5 separate regions of the Homo sapiens genome follow, and all the other regions are linked to region 4. Evidence: promoter capture Hi-C in 16 types of primary human blood cells and fetal thymus (Javierre and others, 2016). All regions are on one chromosome and are shown on one strand. The core of a region is centred on a gene start or on the middle of the fragment in contact, and the rest is flanking DNA. Distances in the headings are between cores, read along the strand shown. Region 1 has its middle 4.7 kb from the start of NDUFV2. Region 2 has its middle 64 kb from the start of NDUFV2. Region 3 overlaps ANKRD12 (ankyrin repeat domain 12). Region 4 holds the start of MTCL1 (microtubule crosslinking factor 1). Region 5 has its middle 89 kb from the start of NDUFV2.

Region 1 (2,748 bases), core at 114-2,613, 390 kb after region 4:
ATTTTCATTATTATTTTTAAATCTGCAGAGCAATATCCCATTGTATGGCTGTACTGTTATTTAATAAATTCTCTACCGATGTCATTTATATAGCTTCCAGGTTTTCAGTATTACAAATAACACCATGATAAACATTTTTGTATACTTTTTCAGTTACTTCCTTAGGATAAATTCATATTAAGAAACCGAACACATATTGCCAAATTACCCTCTCCAGAGGCTGATCTTATCACACTCCTACCATCACCAATGAGAGCATGTAGCTCCACACATTACCAACAACAGTGATCAGCAATTTGCAAATCTATCAGGCAAGAATTACATTCATTGTTGTTTAATTACTTTGACTACTTGCTAGGGAAGCATGGATCAAATTCTGATAGAAAATTTCACTTCAGCTGCAGAAGCTGCTAGGATCAGTCCCATGTTGGGGAAGTAACGAGCGATGTGAATCTGATAATGGCTTAGGTGACGTTCTGCTTATATTATTTTTTTAAAACAATCTGTTCTTGAAGTCTATGTAATTAAGTTACTGGCTGTTTTGATTTTCATTTTCCCTTTTGGTCTCGAATATGCAAGAATAACTTGAGAAGAATCTGAAAGAATCATGCAGAACTCACTCGCTAACCTCACGTCCCCCCTCACCTCAATGTGAAATGGGTCTAACACTTCAGTTTACCAATGTGACCGGATCATTCTTCTTTACATGCTCCAATTTCCTGCTGGAAATACTTCTCTCTCTCTCTGTCTCTCACCCAGCAGTAACCTTATCCCATTTTTCCCTTCCATTGAGTTTTGACTTTATACCAACTGGCTCCCTTTCCCTGCAAAGCAGGACTGGGCCTGCAGCTCACATTTTTCATTAGAAAACCCAGCAAGGCAGGCACGTCAGTATTGTTATGTGAGGGCATGCTGAGAGCCAGAGTGCACGATCTACCTGTGGCTGCTTTAATAAGTAGGATGTGACTTAGGAGTTAATCACAATTTAGAAAGCCTGACTAAAGTGTTCCATAGATGGAGCAGACAAGTTGTTAGATACTGAAAAAAAAACAAAAAACAAAAACAAAAACCCAAAGCTTTTCTGAACTCTTACTGTGTACCAGGCACCATGTTCATCATTTTCCATAAACTGAATGATTTAATGTTCTAATTATACTTTCAGAAACTGAGAACCAAAGCTTCACAAAGGCGAGTAAGTGACGAGGTCAGAATTCAAATCCAATTACAAAGCTCATGATTTTCATTACACCACGTCCTTGATAGTGCCTATGTGTGATGGTTTAAATGGCTAAGAAATCAAGAATGAGAGAGTCAAAGTTCCCACATTTGGTCATCCCTGTAGACTTTATTCTAGCTCCCCCAGCCTCCAGTCCCTCACTCCCCACCCCCAACACCCACACATTCTTTATTTAATGGCTTGACCACTATAGTTAGGGCCAATTTCCCTGGGCTTATGGTACTAGTGCCAACTTAGAATAGTGGAATATATCAAACCAGGCAGCCATGATGTTCACTATGGGTTCATTACATAATCAAGCCAATTTCAATCAAGCTTGTAGGGTTAGGTCAGTAACTTGAAATCATCGATGTCCATGCTGGTCTGTGTCCAGAAATAATGACTTTGATAGTGGGAGGAAGAAGAGGAATTTTCCAAACAGCCCCCACAATTCTATCCTAAGGACTCTGAGAATAGTTGATTGCACATGAGGCTACTTTATAAGTGGAGTGGCTCCAGAAATTAACTTACGTTACTGGGTGTAAAAGATATCCATTCTGACATTCTCACTTAATAAATATTTGGGCTAAGGATAAGCCAAAGTCATGCTGGACATTAACAAGTCTTTTGACTTGGTGAACAGTGTGGTGCCACACTTACTGGCAGTTGAATTGAAATAAAGTTGAATTGAACTAAAAGCATCTTACTTTCTGTAACATCTTCAAGAAGGTGTTAACAGGTTAGACACTCCCTTAGCACACATCCTTAATGTTTTAAACATTACTCTTTGCACTTTTTGGTTCTGTTCCTAGGTAATAGAAATTGGGGGCACCTGGTAAGTCCTTGATTAGTGTCAGGCACCAGTGGGATATACACTTTCTCTATAGGTCATGAACTCAAAAAGACGGTGGTCTACTGTGGATGATCCCGTTAGTTGCCTACCTAGATTTACTTCTTCAGCCCCTTCCTTGCTGGCAGAGCTATTTTGTTCAGGAGCTAATGGGCCCCAAACTAGCCCTTCCATTCTCCTTTCTGATTAGTGGCTTAATTATCTTAATATTGTAATGTTCTATTCTGATGATGGTGATGATGATGATGAAGGCTAACACTTACTAAGCATTTACTCTGTGCTAGGTACTTTTTAAAGAACTTTAAAAGGTATCAACTCATTTCGATACAGGAGTTAAGAAGAAATTGCTTAGGCAGATAGTGAGGGTATGGGAGTCCTCAGTAAGGTTTCCCTTTTAATAAAAAGCAGCCGCCAATCATTTTCTTTTCTAACAAAGAGCAGCCTGTAAAATCGAGCTGCAGACAGACAAGCAAACTAGGAGCTTGCACAGGTGAATTCTGGCAGTTGTGCCCATAGGAATATACTACCTGGGATGAGGCATGTTCAAAGTGGCGGCCCCATCTTCTCTTTTTGCCAGCAACGTGTACAGTAAGGAGCAGACTAGATGGCACTGCCCAAGTGGAAAGCCCATTTGTATAATAAGATTAGGGTTGGGAGACCAGCCTTCCCCTTGCTACATAAA
Region 2 (2,700 bases), core at 20-2,519, 330 kb after region 4:
TGAGATTACAGGCGTGAGCCACCACGCCCAGCCCTATTGCAGTTTTAAGTATTTTCTTTAAGAGAAATAAAAATTGATGTCCAAGAATCTGTATACTAATGATCATAGCGTTAGCCATAATAGTCCCAAACAGAAAACAACTCAAATGTTTATCAGTAGATGAATAGATAAACAAGTTGTATATATCCCTGCAATAAACACATCAGCAATGAAAAGGACCAAATTACTGATACACAGATGAATCTCAAAAATATTACAATGAGCAAAAGAAGCCACAAAATAGTACATACTGTGTGATTCTATTAATATGAAATGAGAAAAGACAAATCTAACCTTTAGTGACAGAAAGAAGACTGGGCAGAAGGGAACTTTTGTGAAGTGACAGAAATGCTCATCTTAGTCACAGTAGTAATTACATAGCTGTATACTGTCAACAGACAAAATTATAACAAATTTGGTTATAAAGCTGTTTAGCTTTGTTCAAAACTTGTGAATTGGGACAGCCTCCGTTCTACAAAATAGGATGAGAGCTCCCACCGAGCTAAGGAAGAACACTGGGGTTTGTAAGATGAAAACAAGGAAACAGAACAATAGCACTGATTAATATCACATTACTTTTTTTCTAAAGGTTAAAGCAGAGAGACTGCCTTATTATGCTGACTCAGGTAGACTGGAATCTCCTGTTCTCAGGAAAAACTGGTCTGTTTGGGGATCTATCTGCTTGCTTCCTTGAAGTTTCAGTTTGATTATGTGGCATTTAGCATAAGTGACTCTATTTTGGTTTGGTCTGGTCTGTTGGGGCCTAGCACAGGAGTTCAGACTAAAATAGTGGCCTCCCATGATTTTAACAGTACGATTGTCAAAACTCATCAGATAGTACATTTATAATGGGTGCATTCCACTGTATGTAAACTTAAAGAAATTCTCCACCAGGAGCAGTGGCTCATGCCTGTAATCCCAGCACTTTCAGAGGCCAAGGCGGGTGAATGTTTGAGCCCAGGAGTTTGAGACCAGCCTGGGCAACATGACGAAACCCTGTCCTATAAAAATGCAAAAATTAGCCGGGCCTAGTGGCCTGCGCCTGTAATCCCAGGTACTCAGGAGGCTGAGGTGGAAGGATCACTTGAGCCCAGAAGGCGGAGGTTGCAATGAGCCAAGATCATGCCACTGCACTCCAGCTTGGGCAACAGAGCAAGCCCCTGTCTTTAAAAAAAAAAAAGAAAAGAAAAGAAAAGAAAAAGAAAAAAAGTCCTTTCTTCCCTATACTTTTCCATCTCTCCAAATCAGCTTCATTTGGTTTGGTTTCTTTTTTTATTCCTCCTTTCATCTGTTCAGAACCGGTCCTCTCTGAGGAATATTGTATTTGTTTCTTTCAAATGTAAATTGTTTTGGCATTTTCAGCTCCATCCAACTCTCTCAACTTCATCCTTTCAGGGATATGCATAATACAACTCCAGTCTGTACAAAGCACCCTTCCTCCTTGGAAGGTGGAGGCTGAGAACTGCAGATACTTATAAATTGCCCCCCCGCCCCGCCACACACACACACACACACACACACACAAATACATTGCTATGCCAATGGCAGTGCCAAAGCCAGGACTATAATCCAGATTACCCAATTTTCTGATAGAATGAATGTGTTTCTTATGCCAGCTGCAGCTTAACATGCAAAATTCCTTTTTTGTCTTCCAGTTCAATATACACTATTTGAAGAGATGTTAGGTAAATCCCGTATTTTCTTCAGAGACAGAAGCTGAGGAGGCTGGGTTGGGAGTGAGGGTTTAATTTGCAACCACGTTAGATGTCATGGCCCCCAGGCTCACTGCTTTGCAGAAGAACTTAGGTAATTATCATAAGGAACAAGTGCACACAAATCAAAGGTCAACTGAGCTGAAGTTATTTGATTTAGGATTTTGGTGATGTTCTTTGTCCTTGTTAATGCTGCTGCCACTTTTTGTTTGTTTTTGTTAAAAAATAGCAACCAAGTGCCCACATTTAAGGTATTTTCATCACAAGTTTACTGAAGAGCAACTCAATATTGTCTTTCTAAGAATTCAAGCTACATTCATTCCTCTCCTAGCCTGTCCCCATGGCAACAGTACCCAGGTGCCATTTTAGCAGGTTTTACTTAGTAACTTTCAGCATCAGTACGATTTTTTGCATTGTTCTTCTTGTATATACTAAATTAGAAAGGTTAACAACAAAATGATGGACAATAGAAAACACTTCCAAACTCATTTTATGAAGCCAGCATTATCTTGATGCCAAAATGAGACAGACACCACAGTAAAAGAAAAAACTGGCCAGGCGTGGTAGCTCACGCCTGTAATCCCAGCACTTTGGGAGGCTGAGGTGGGTGGATCACGAGGTCAAGAGATCGAGATCATCCTGGCCAACATGGTGAAACCCCATCTCTACTAAAAATACAAAAATTAGCTGGGCGTGGTGTTGGGTGCCTGTAGTCCCAGCTACTTGGGAGGCTGCGGCAGAATCACTTGAACCCGGGAGGCAGAGGTTGCAGTGAGCCAAGATCGCGCCACTGCACTCCAGCCTGGCGACAGAGCGAGACTCTGTCTCAAAAAAAGAAAAAAAAACTATTAAAATGGCAGCTCTCATATTAGGTGTTCTTACCACAGTAAAATAAACATAATTTTTTTTAAACGACAGAGACAGAAAACAGAGTAGGATACACTTCGAA
Region 3 (2,700 bases), core at 15-2,514, 480 kb after region 4:
AAGAATGTTCACACCTTTCACTGCTCATCTGTGGTCTTTTCCCCCCATTGATTCTAGTTTAGTTTAGAAATGTCTCCACTACTCTTTTAGCTATAAATCAGTATTTAAAATTTGCAAAGCAGAATCTTTTATAAACTCTGTTAAGATAGTCTAAAACCTGGTTAAATTCATAAAATGTGAGAGAGGGGATATTAATTATTTTAACCATCTGAATAGTTCTGTTATATCCTTTTCGTCATCAGTGTAGTTCAGACATTCATTATTTCCTCTCCAAGTGACTATTGAGAATTTTTTCTTTTATTATCCAAGTATTATAATACATGTTTGTTGTAAAAAATTAGAAAATACATATAAGAATAATGAAAATAGAAATTACCTATTACCTTGTCAACAACTGTGAAGGTTCTGAGATTTTACCCTACTTGTAAGCTAATTAGCTTCATGGATGCTGGCAGAAGACACAATTCCTAGGTCAGTGATGAAGGAATATTTGCTATTCAGCAATAGCAGTAGCCAGAGTATCATTGTTTGTGCCTGTTCCCTGAGCCTCGCTTCTCACAAGGGGGATGCAGTGATGGGCAGATGACAACTGCATATGCAGTGGGTTGTATTACAGGGTAGGAACCCCAAATCTTTTATGATGGGCAGTAAGTCTGCCTGAACTTTTCCCTAGAAGGAGACATTATTACACTGGACAGCAAACAGGTATGTCCTTAGCTTTAGAGGGAGACACTACCTCTGTCTTTCGAGGCTGTTTATCATACAAATACCCATGAAAAGATAGTCCAGGACAAAGGAAATTAGTGTGTCTGCTCGCAACATGTGCAAAAATGCAAGAGAGACATGGAGAATTATGTCCCAACACAGCTGTAATGGCACCACCTACAGATAGCTATTAACATTTTGGTTTACAGGCATACCTCATTTTATTGCACTTCACTTTATTGTGCTTTGCAGATAATTGTGCTTTTTACAAATTGAAGGTTAGTGGCAACCCTGTGTTGAGCAAGTTCATTGGCAACATTTTTCCAACAGCATGTACTCACTTGTCTCTATGTCACATCTTGATAATTTTCATATTTCCAACTTTTTCATTATCATGATGATGATTAGTGATCTTTGTTACTGTTGTAGTTGTTTTGTGGGCACCACACTGTATGCAGAAAAGATGGCAAGCTTAATGTTGTATGTGTTCTACTGCTCCACTTACTGGCTTCTCTCCCAACTCCGCCCCTCCTTGGGCCTTCCTATTTCCTAAAACAACAATTTTGAAATTGTTGTGTTTCAGTGGTCTCTAAGTATTCAAGTGAAGAGTGGAATGTCTCTCATTTTAAGTCAAAAGCTCTAAATGATTAAGCTTAGTGAGGAAGGTATGTCAAAGGCTGAGAGAGGTCAAAAGCTAGGCCTCTTGTGCCAGTTAACCAAGAGAGGAATGCCAAGGAAAAGTTCTTGAAGAACACTAAAAGTGCTGTTAAAGTGAACACACCATAAGAAAGCAAAACAGTCTTATTGCTGATATGGAGGAAGTTTGGAGTGGTCTGGATAGAAGATCAAACCAGCTACAACATCCCCTTAAACCAAAGTTCAATCCAGATCAAGGCCCTCTCCTCAATTCTGTGAAGGCTGAGAGAGGTTTGGAAGCTGCAGAAGAAAAGTCTGAAGCTAGCATAAGTTGGTTCATGAGGTTTAAGGAAAGAAGCTGTCTCCATAACATAAAAGTGCAAGGTGAAGCACCAAGTGCTAATGTGGAAGCTACAGCAAGTTATCCAGAAGATCTAGCTATGATCTTTGATGAAGATGGCTACACTAAACTACAGATTTCAGTATAGATGAAATAGCCTTCTATTGGAAAAAGATACCATGTAGGACTTTGAAAGCTAGAGAGGAGAAGTCAATCCCTGGCTTCAAAGCTTCAGAGGACAGGCTCACTGTCTTGTTAGGGACAAATGCAGCTGACAACTATTAAGTTAAAGCCAGTGCTCTTTTTCCATTGCAAAAACGCCAAGACCCATAAGAATTACGTGAAATTTACTCTGCCTGTACCTTATCAATGGAAAAACAGTGCCTAATGACAGCACATCTGTTCACAGCATGGTTTCCTGAATAGATTAAGCCTACTGTTGAGACTTACTAAGAAAAAAGGATTATTTTCAAAATATTACTGCTCATTGACAACATGTCAGTGAGCTGTCACCCAAGAGCTCTGACAGAGACATACAAAGAGAATAATGTTGTTTTCATGGCTGCTGACATGCAGTCCATTCTGCAGCCCATAGGTCAAGGAATAATTTTAACTTTTTAAACAAGTCTTATTAAAGAAGTATGCTTTGTAAGGCTGTAGCTGCCATAGAGAGTGATTCCTCTGATGGATTTGGGCAAAAAAATTGAAAACCATCTTGAAAGGATTCACCATTTTAGATGCCATTAAAAACATTTGTGATTCATGAGAGGAAGTCAAAATACCAATATTAACCAGAGTTTGGAAAAGTTGATTCTAACACTCATGGATGACTGAGAGGGTCAAGACTTTAGTGGAGGAACTAACTGTAGATGGGATTGGAAAACGCAAGAGAATGAGAATCAAGTGGAGCCTGAAGATGTGACTGAATTGCTGAAATCTCATGATCAAACTTGAAACCTACTTTTAAAACAACCTTATAAGCAAAACACTTGGTTTGAAGCTCCATTTCATTGGCAGAA
Region 4 (2,700 bases), core at 156-2,655:
CCCTCTGCCTCCTGCAACGCCAGGGCTGGAGGACAGGCTGGCCCCTATTCCTATGGGCACTGGCCAACATCCAACGCCTGGGACATAAACTGCACCCAATGGTATGTGAACTGTACTTTACAGTTTGCACGGTGTGTTCTGGTATTTGCTAAATCTTCACACATGCTCAGGTGGCAGTACGTTTTAATGATACAGGCGAGGGAACTGGGGCTCAGAAAGGTCTAGTGCCTTGCGCATGGGAGACTCAAGTGGTAGAACCGGTGGCCGGGCTCCGGGCTCTGAGCGGAAAGCCTGCAGGACTCGGAATCCTGAAGACCTGGGTTTAAACCCGCTCAGCTAGGGACTGGGTGAGGCATCGCAGGCAAGTGACTTCACCTCCCAGCGCCGGTGCCCTAGTCTTCACCGAAGACAGCAATTCCAATCTGGGACTGTGGTGAGGCTTAAATAAAACACTGCTCAGTAAGTGGCCAGCAGGCCTGGCTCGCAGCCGGAACTATAAATGTGAGTTCCCTTTCTGACCCCCAGGTTTGGCGAGGGCTCCTCCTGTTTGGGCAGCAGCTCCTCCTGAGCTCCCGAGGCCACGGGGGTGCCAACTGTGGAGCGCCCGCCGTGCCGTTTAGACGCGAGAGCTGCGTCGGGTACCAGCGATCCTTAAAGGAGCTCGGGGACCAGGGGCACAGCTTGGAGAGGACAGCGAGGGAGGTGACTGGCCTCGGGGAGGCGGGCGGTGGATGGAGAGGCATGAGAGGGGTGTTGTCAGCCGCGGCACACGCCTTCCCCAAGTGGCCGGCGCCGCCCCTTGCCACCACTTCACCTCCGCCTCTTCCCTTCCTCCCTAGCTCCTGGCAGCGTCTCTAGGGCCTCAAAAAGCAAGGAGGGTCCCCGGGCAGCGAGGCCCCATGGATCCAGCCTGCGCCTGCTCCCAAGGGCGCGCAGGTCCCGCCCCTGCCGGGCGCCCGCCCCCCGGGGAGCGCAAGCCCCCGCCCCTTCCCTCGCCCCTCCCCTGCACGGCGCCGGCTGGCTGGAGGCGGGGCATGCGCACGGGCCTGGGCGAGGGCGCTGGGCGGCGGGGAGGTGGGGCGCGCGCGTGCGGCTTCTCTCAGCCGGGAGCGGCGGGGGCGGGCACGGGCAGCAGCGGGCCGGCGGTGGGCGGGGAGCGGGACGCGGGAGCCGGGCGCGCGCCGCCAGCGCCGCCGCGGCACCGGTGACCGCGAGCCCGGAGCGCGAGGTCCGGGGATGCGAGCGGCCGGGAGCCGCCGCGCTGCTGAGCCGGGAGAACTCGATCCGCGGTGACCTCAGCGAGGGGCGAGCGCGGCGGCGGCGAGCCCCGCGGGAATCCTCGGGGCCGGGGTGCGGGGGGCGGGGACGGCGGGAGCGCGGGGCGCAGCCCGGGCGGGGCTGGGACAGTGATGAGAGAGCGCGCGGGGAGGCTGCACGCCGCCGCCGCCGCCGCCGCCGCCGTCGTCGTCCGGAGCATCTGCTGCCTGAGCTGCTGCCGGCGGACCCGGCCATGGAGACACTGAACGGCCCCGCGGGCGGAGGTGCCCCGGACGCGAAGCTGCAGCCGCCCGGCCAGCACCACCGCCACCACCACCTCCACCCGGTGGCCGAAAGGCGGCGGCTGCACCGTGCGCCCTCGCCCGCCAGACCCTTCCTCAAGGACCTGCACGCCCGGCCCGCCGCGCCCGGCCCGGCCGTCCCCTCCTCGGGCCGAGCCCCGGCTCCCGCCGCCCCGCGCTCGCCCAACCTCGCGGGCAAAGCGCCGCCCTCGCCGGGGTCCCTGGCCGCGCCCGGCCGCCTCTCTCGGCGCAGTGGCGGCGTCCCGGGCGCGAAGGACAAGCCCCCGCCGGGCGCCGGGGCCAGAGCGGCGGGCGGTGCCAAGGCTGCCCTGGGAAGCAGGAGGGCGGCGCGCGTGGCGCCCGCGGAGCCGCTGTCCCGGGCTGGGAAGCCTCCCGGAGCCGAGCCGCCGTCTGCCGCTGCCAAGGGCCGCAAAGCCAAGCGCGGCTCCCGGGCGCCACCCGCCCGCACCGTCGGCCCCCCGACCCCGGCCGCCCGGATCCCTGCCGTGACCCTCGCGGTGACCTCGGTGGCCGGGTCCCCGGCCCGCTGCTCGCGCATCAGCCACACGGACAGCAGCTCCGACCTCTCTGACTGCCCCTCCGAACCCCTGTCCGACGAGCAGCGCCTGCTCCCTGCCGCCAGCAGCGACGCCGAATCCGGCACGGGCTCCAGCGACCGTGAACCCCCACGAGGAGCGCCGACGCCGAGCCCCGCAGCCCGAGGAGCGCCGCCGGGCAGCCCCGAGCCCCCAGCGCTCCTCGCCGCGCCCCTCGCCGCGGGCGCCTGTCCCGGGGGCCGGAGCATCCCGAGCGGGGTTTCGGGGGGTTTCGCGGGGCCCGGCGTGGCGGAGGATGTCCGGGGGCGCTCGCCACCGGAGCGACCAGTCCCCGGGACCCCCAAGGAGCCCAGCCTGGGCGAGCAGTCTCGGCTCGTGCCAGCGGCGGAGGAAGAAGAGCTGCTGCGGGAGATGGAGGAGCTGCGCTCGGAGAACGACTATCTCAAGGTGAGCCGCGCCTCGGCCGCAGGTGTCCCGGGGCGCCCCCGGAGGGCCTGGCTGCGGCGGGGACCCGCCAACCCCTCCTTCCCGGGCCTGTCCAGCGCCTTCTCCCTCCTGCTCTCCACGGTCCTACCCCCGCATTG
Region 5 (2,810 bases), core at 129-2,628, 310 kb after region 4:
ACCTCATGATCCGCCCGCCTCAGCCTCCCAAAGTGCTGGGATTACAGGCGTGAGCCACCGCACCTGGCCTGTTCTGGTTTTTTTAAGACCCTCATTAAGCTTCCTGTCCTGTCTCTGTCTATTGCCTCTGTCTCTATAACATTTCCAGAAAATTCATGTCTTCTGCCTCTCTCCAACCTAGAAAACTGATGGAAACGGGACCACCGATGGAGTACTTCCACTGTAATCTTATGAGTCTATTCTTTCTCTCATTGGCTAAGAAGAATTGCCTACATGATTTCCACATTATTTCTGTCATAAAAGCAATGAAAATCATATTTATTTACTTATCTAGAGAACAGAGTCTGGCACATAGTAGCAGAAATTCAGTAAATACTTGTCTTAGTCCATTTGTGTTGCTATTTAAAAAAATACCTGAAGCTGGGTAATTCATAAAGAAAAGAGGTTTATTTGTCTCATGGTCCTGCAGGCTGTACAGAAAACATAGTGCCAGCATCTGCTTCTAGTGAGGCTTCAGGCTGCTTCCACACATGGTGGAAGGCAAAGGCAAGCTGGCATGTACAGACGACATGGTGAGAGAAGAAGCGAGAGAAAGAGAGACAGACAGACAGAGAGGAGAAGGTGCCAGGCTCTTTTCAACAACCGATTATCTTGGGAATTAAGAGTGAGAGCTCGCTCACTCCCACCAGACAGGCACCAACCCATCCATGAGGGATCCTCCCCCACAATCCAAACACCTTCCACCAGGCCCCACCTCCACTGGGGATTAAATTTCAACATGAGATTTGGTGGGGCCAAACAAACCGTATCCAAACCATAGCACATATGAAGTGAATAAAGGAATGAAGGAATGAATGAATGAGTGAAAACTAGGGAATCTTGACAATCTGACATAATGATTGCTAAGATGGCCTTTAAGTAGGGAGATGACACTATAGAGATGATATGAATGATCCAGGGTAAGTGACTGAGCTTTTAGCTGTTTTATCAAGAGAAAAGTTGATTTAGTGTAACTCACACTACTTGAATTCAGATCAGAAGACCTGCCTTTTCTGATCTTGGCTACGATCACACACTTGCCAGATTAACATTTCTGGGCCTCAGTTTCCTCATGTGTAAAATCATGAAAAATGGCCAGGCACAGCGGCTCACGCCTGTAATCTTAGCACTTTGGGAGGCTGAGGCAAGTAAATTGCTTGAACTGAGAAATTCAAGACCAGAGTGGGAAACATGGCAAAACCTGTCTCTACAAAAAAAAAAATACATAAATTAGCCAACATGGTGGTGCACACCTGTAGTCCCAGCTACCTGGGAGGCTGAAGTGGGAGGATCACTTGAGTCCAGGAGGTCTAGGCTGCAGTGAGCTGTGATGGCTCCACTGCACTCCACCCTGGGTGACAGAGCAAGACCCTGTCTCACAAAAAAAAAAAAAAAAAACATGGAAAATAATACCTACACCGGGCGAGGTGGCTCACGACTGTAATCCCAGCAATTTGGGAGGCCGAGACAGGAGGATTACCTGAGGTCAGGAGTTAAAGACCAGCCTGGCCAACATGGTGAAACCTCATCTCTACAAAAATACAAAAATTAGCCAGGCATGATGGCAGACACCTGTAATCCCAGCTACTTGGGAGGCTGAGGCAGGAGAATCACTTGAACCTGGAAGGTGGAAGTTGCAGTGAGCCGAGATCGCACCACTGCACTCCAGCTTGGGTGACAGAGGGAGACCCTGTCTCAAGAACAAAAAAAACAAAACAAACAAAAAAAAAACATGAAAAATAAGGCCTACCACCTTGCCGCATTGTTGTCAAGTTTCATGCGTCCAGGGAACACTAGGAAACAATTCTTTACTTTGTTCTTGGGTGATAGAGAGGAATGAGAAAAAGAAGGCATCTCTGTGACTGGACTATTTTATTCATTCATTCATTATCTATTCCCACTTGGAGATTCACCTTCCAGAATTCTGGGGCAAACCTGAAGAGCTTTGTGTTCAGTTTCAACAAGTCAACTCTCCATTGAAATGTGAATGAACTTTGTGGAGAGACCTTTCTATGGCAGCCTACTCTTATACTGGGCCCATGAGGCCAGTTCAAGGCCATGGACAGTTGTACATTGTTGAATACTGCACAAGGACATTACACCTAAGGGGACTTTTCACATTGTAGGCATGTCATGTGTATTTATCGTGACAGTTTCCTGGCATATGGAAGCAACATATCTTGTACTACCAAAAATCAGTATATGGTAGTAATTTCCCAACAAATACAAATACAATTTCCTAAGGAAGATATCCCGTTGTCCATTAGCATAAAAGTACTGCACCATACCAGCAGGTGCACCTCTGAGATCTGCTTGTCCCCACCTGATGTCTGTGCCTCTGCTGCTTATTCCAGGAGCAGGTGCAGTTGCCACACCACCACCCAGCACTCAGCCTCCCCTGGCAGAGGAACATGACCACCATTACGTCCTCTGTAGCTACAGCCCCAGCACCCAGGTGGGAGTCAAGCAGACCCCCACGGGCTTTGACTGCCCCGGGGGGCTGCCCAGAGGAACACAGAGTAACACACTCAGAAACATGGGGGAGATAACACCCCAAGGAAGGAACATGGACCAGTGAGAGTTGGGAGATGGGAGAAGCTGACAGATAAATGGCTCATTCAAGCTTCCCATGGCTTCTTGCGCCATTCCAAGAGCAATGGCTCCATGCAGCCTCTCCAGAGGTTCATGTCCTTGTGAGATGGTCACCAGCTTTTTCTTACACCACCTCTTATCTGTGTTCCCTCCTTCCCACCTCACAGCCCTCGCCCCTC

The links. Contacts are between HindIII fragments. The CHiCAGO score rates a contact against its expected background, and 5 or more counts as called.
Region 1: a contact is called between a fragment that was not itself captured here and the fragment with the promoter of MTCL1 in region 4, in 2 of 17 cell types (naive B cells and fetal thymus). The highest score is 5.3, in naive B cells.
Region 2: a contact is called between a fragment that was not itself captured here and the fragment with the promoter of MTCL1 in region 4, in 1 of 17 cell types (M1 macrophages). The highest score is 5.1, in M1 macrophages.
Region 3: a fragment that was not itself captured here is called in contact with the fragment with the promoter of MTCL1 in region 4 in 1 of 17 cell types (total B cells); the score reaches 5.7 in total B cells.
Region 5: a fragment that was not itself captured here is called in contact with the fragment with the promoter of MTCL1 in region 4 in 3 of 17 cell types (endothelial precursors, naive B cells and megakaryocytes); the score reaches 6.7 in endothelial precursors.

Annotation. Positions count from the first base shown.
Region 1 is chr18:9,096,658-9,099,405 of GRCh38, forward strand. No RefSeq gene overlaps it. Among named protein-coding and RNA genes, the nearest start is that of NDUFV2, 4.7 kb to the right of the region's middle. The HindIII fragment of the contact is 374 bases long and covers 1,177-1,550 here.
Region 2 is chr18:9,037,781-9,040,480 of GRCh38, forward strand. No RefSeq gene overlaps it. Among named protein-coding and RNA genes, the nearest start is that of NDUFV2, 64 kb to the right of the region's middle. The HindIII fragment of the contact is 3,394 bases long and covers 1-2,700 here.
Region 3 is chr18:9,187,641-9,190,340 of GRCh38, forward strand. All of the region lies in intron 2 of ANKRD12 (ankyrin repeat domain 12), which reads left to right. Among named protein-coding and RNA genes, the nearest start is that of ANKRD12, 52 kb to the left of the region's middle. The HindIII fragment of the contact is 181 bases long and covers 1,175-1,355 here.
Region 4 is chr18:8,704,151-8,706,850 of GRCh38, forward strand. MTCL1 (microtubule crosslinking factor 1) reads left to right here and starts at 1,406. Exons shown (of 15, transcript NM_001395333.1): 1 at 1,406-2,563. The coding sequence starts at 1,511. All of the region lies in intron 1 of GACAT2 (gastric cancer associated transcript 2), which reads right to left. RefSeq lists silencers at 751-1,190, 1,571-1,630. The HindIII fragment of the contact is 5,801 bases long and covers 1-2,700 here.
Region 5 is chr18:9,012,216-9,015,025 of GRCh38, forward strand. No RefSeq gene overlaps it. Among named protein-coding and RNA genes, the nearest start is that of NDUFV2, 89 kb to the right of the region's middle. The HindIII fragment of the contact is 2,563 bases long and covers 98-2,660 here.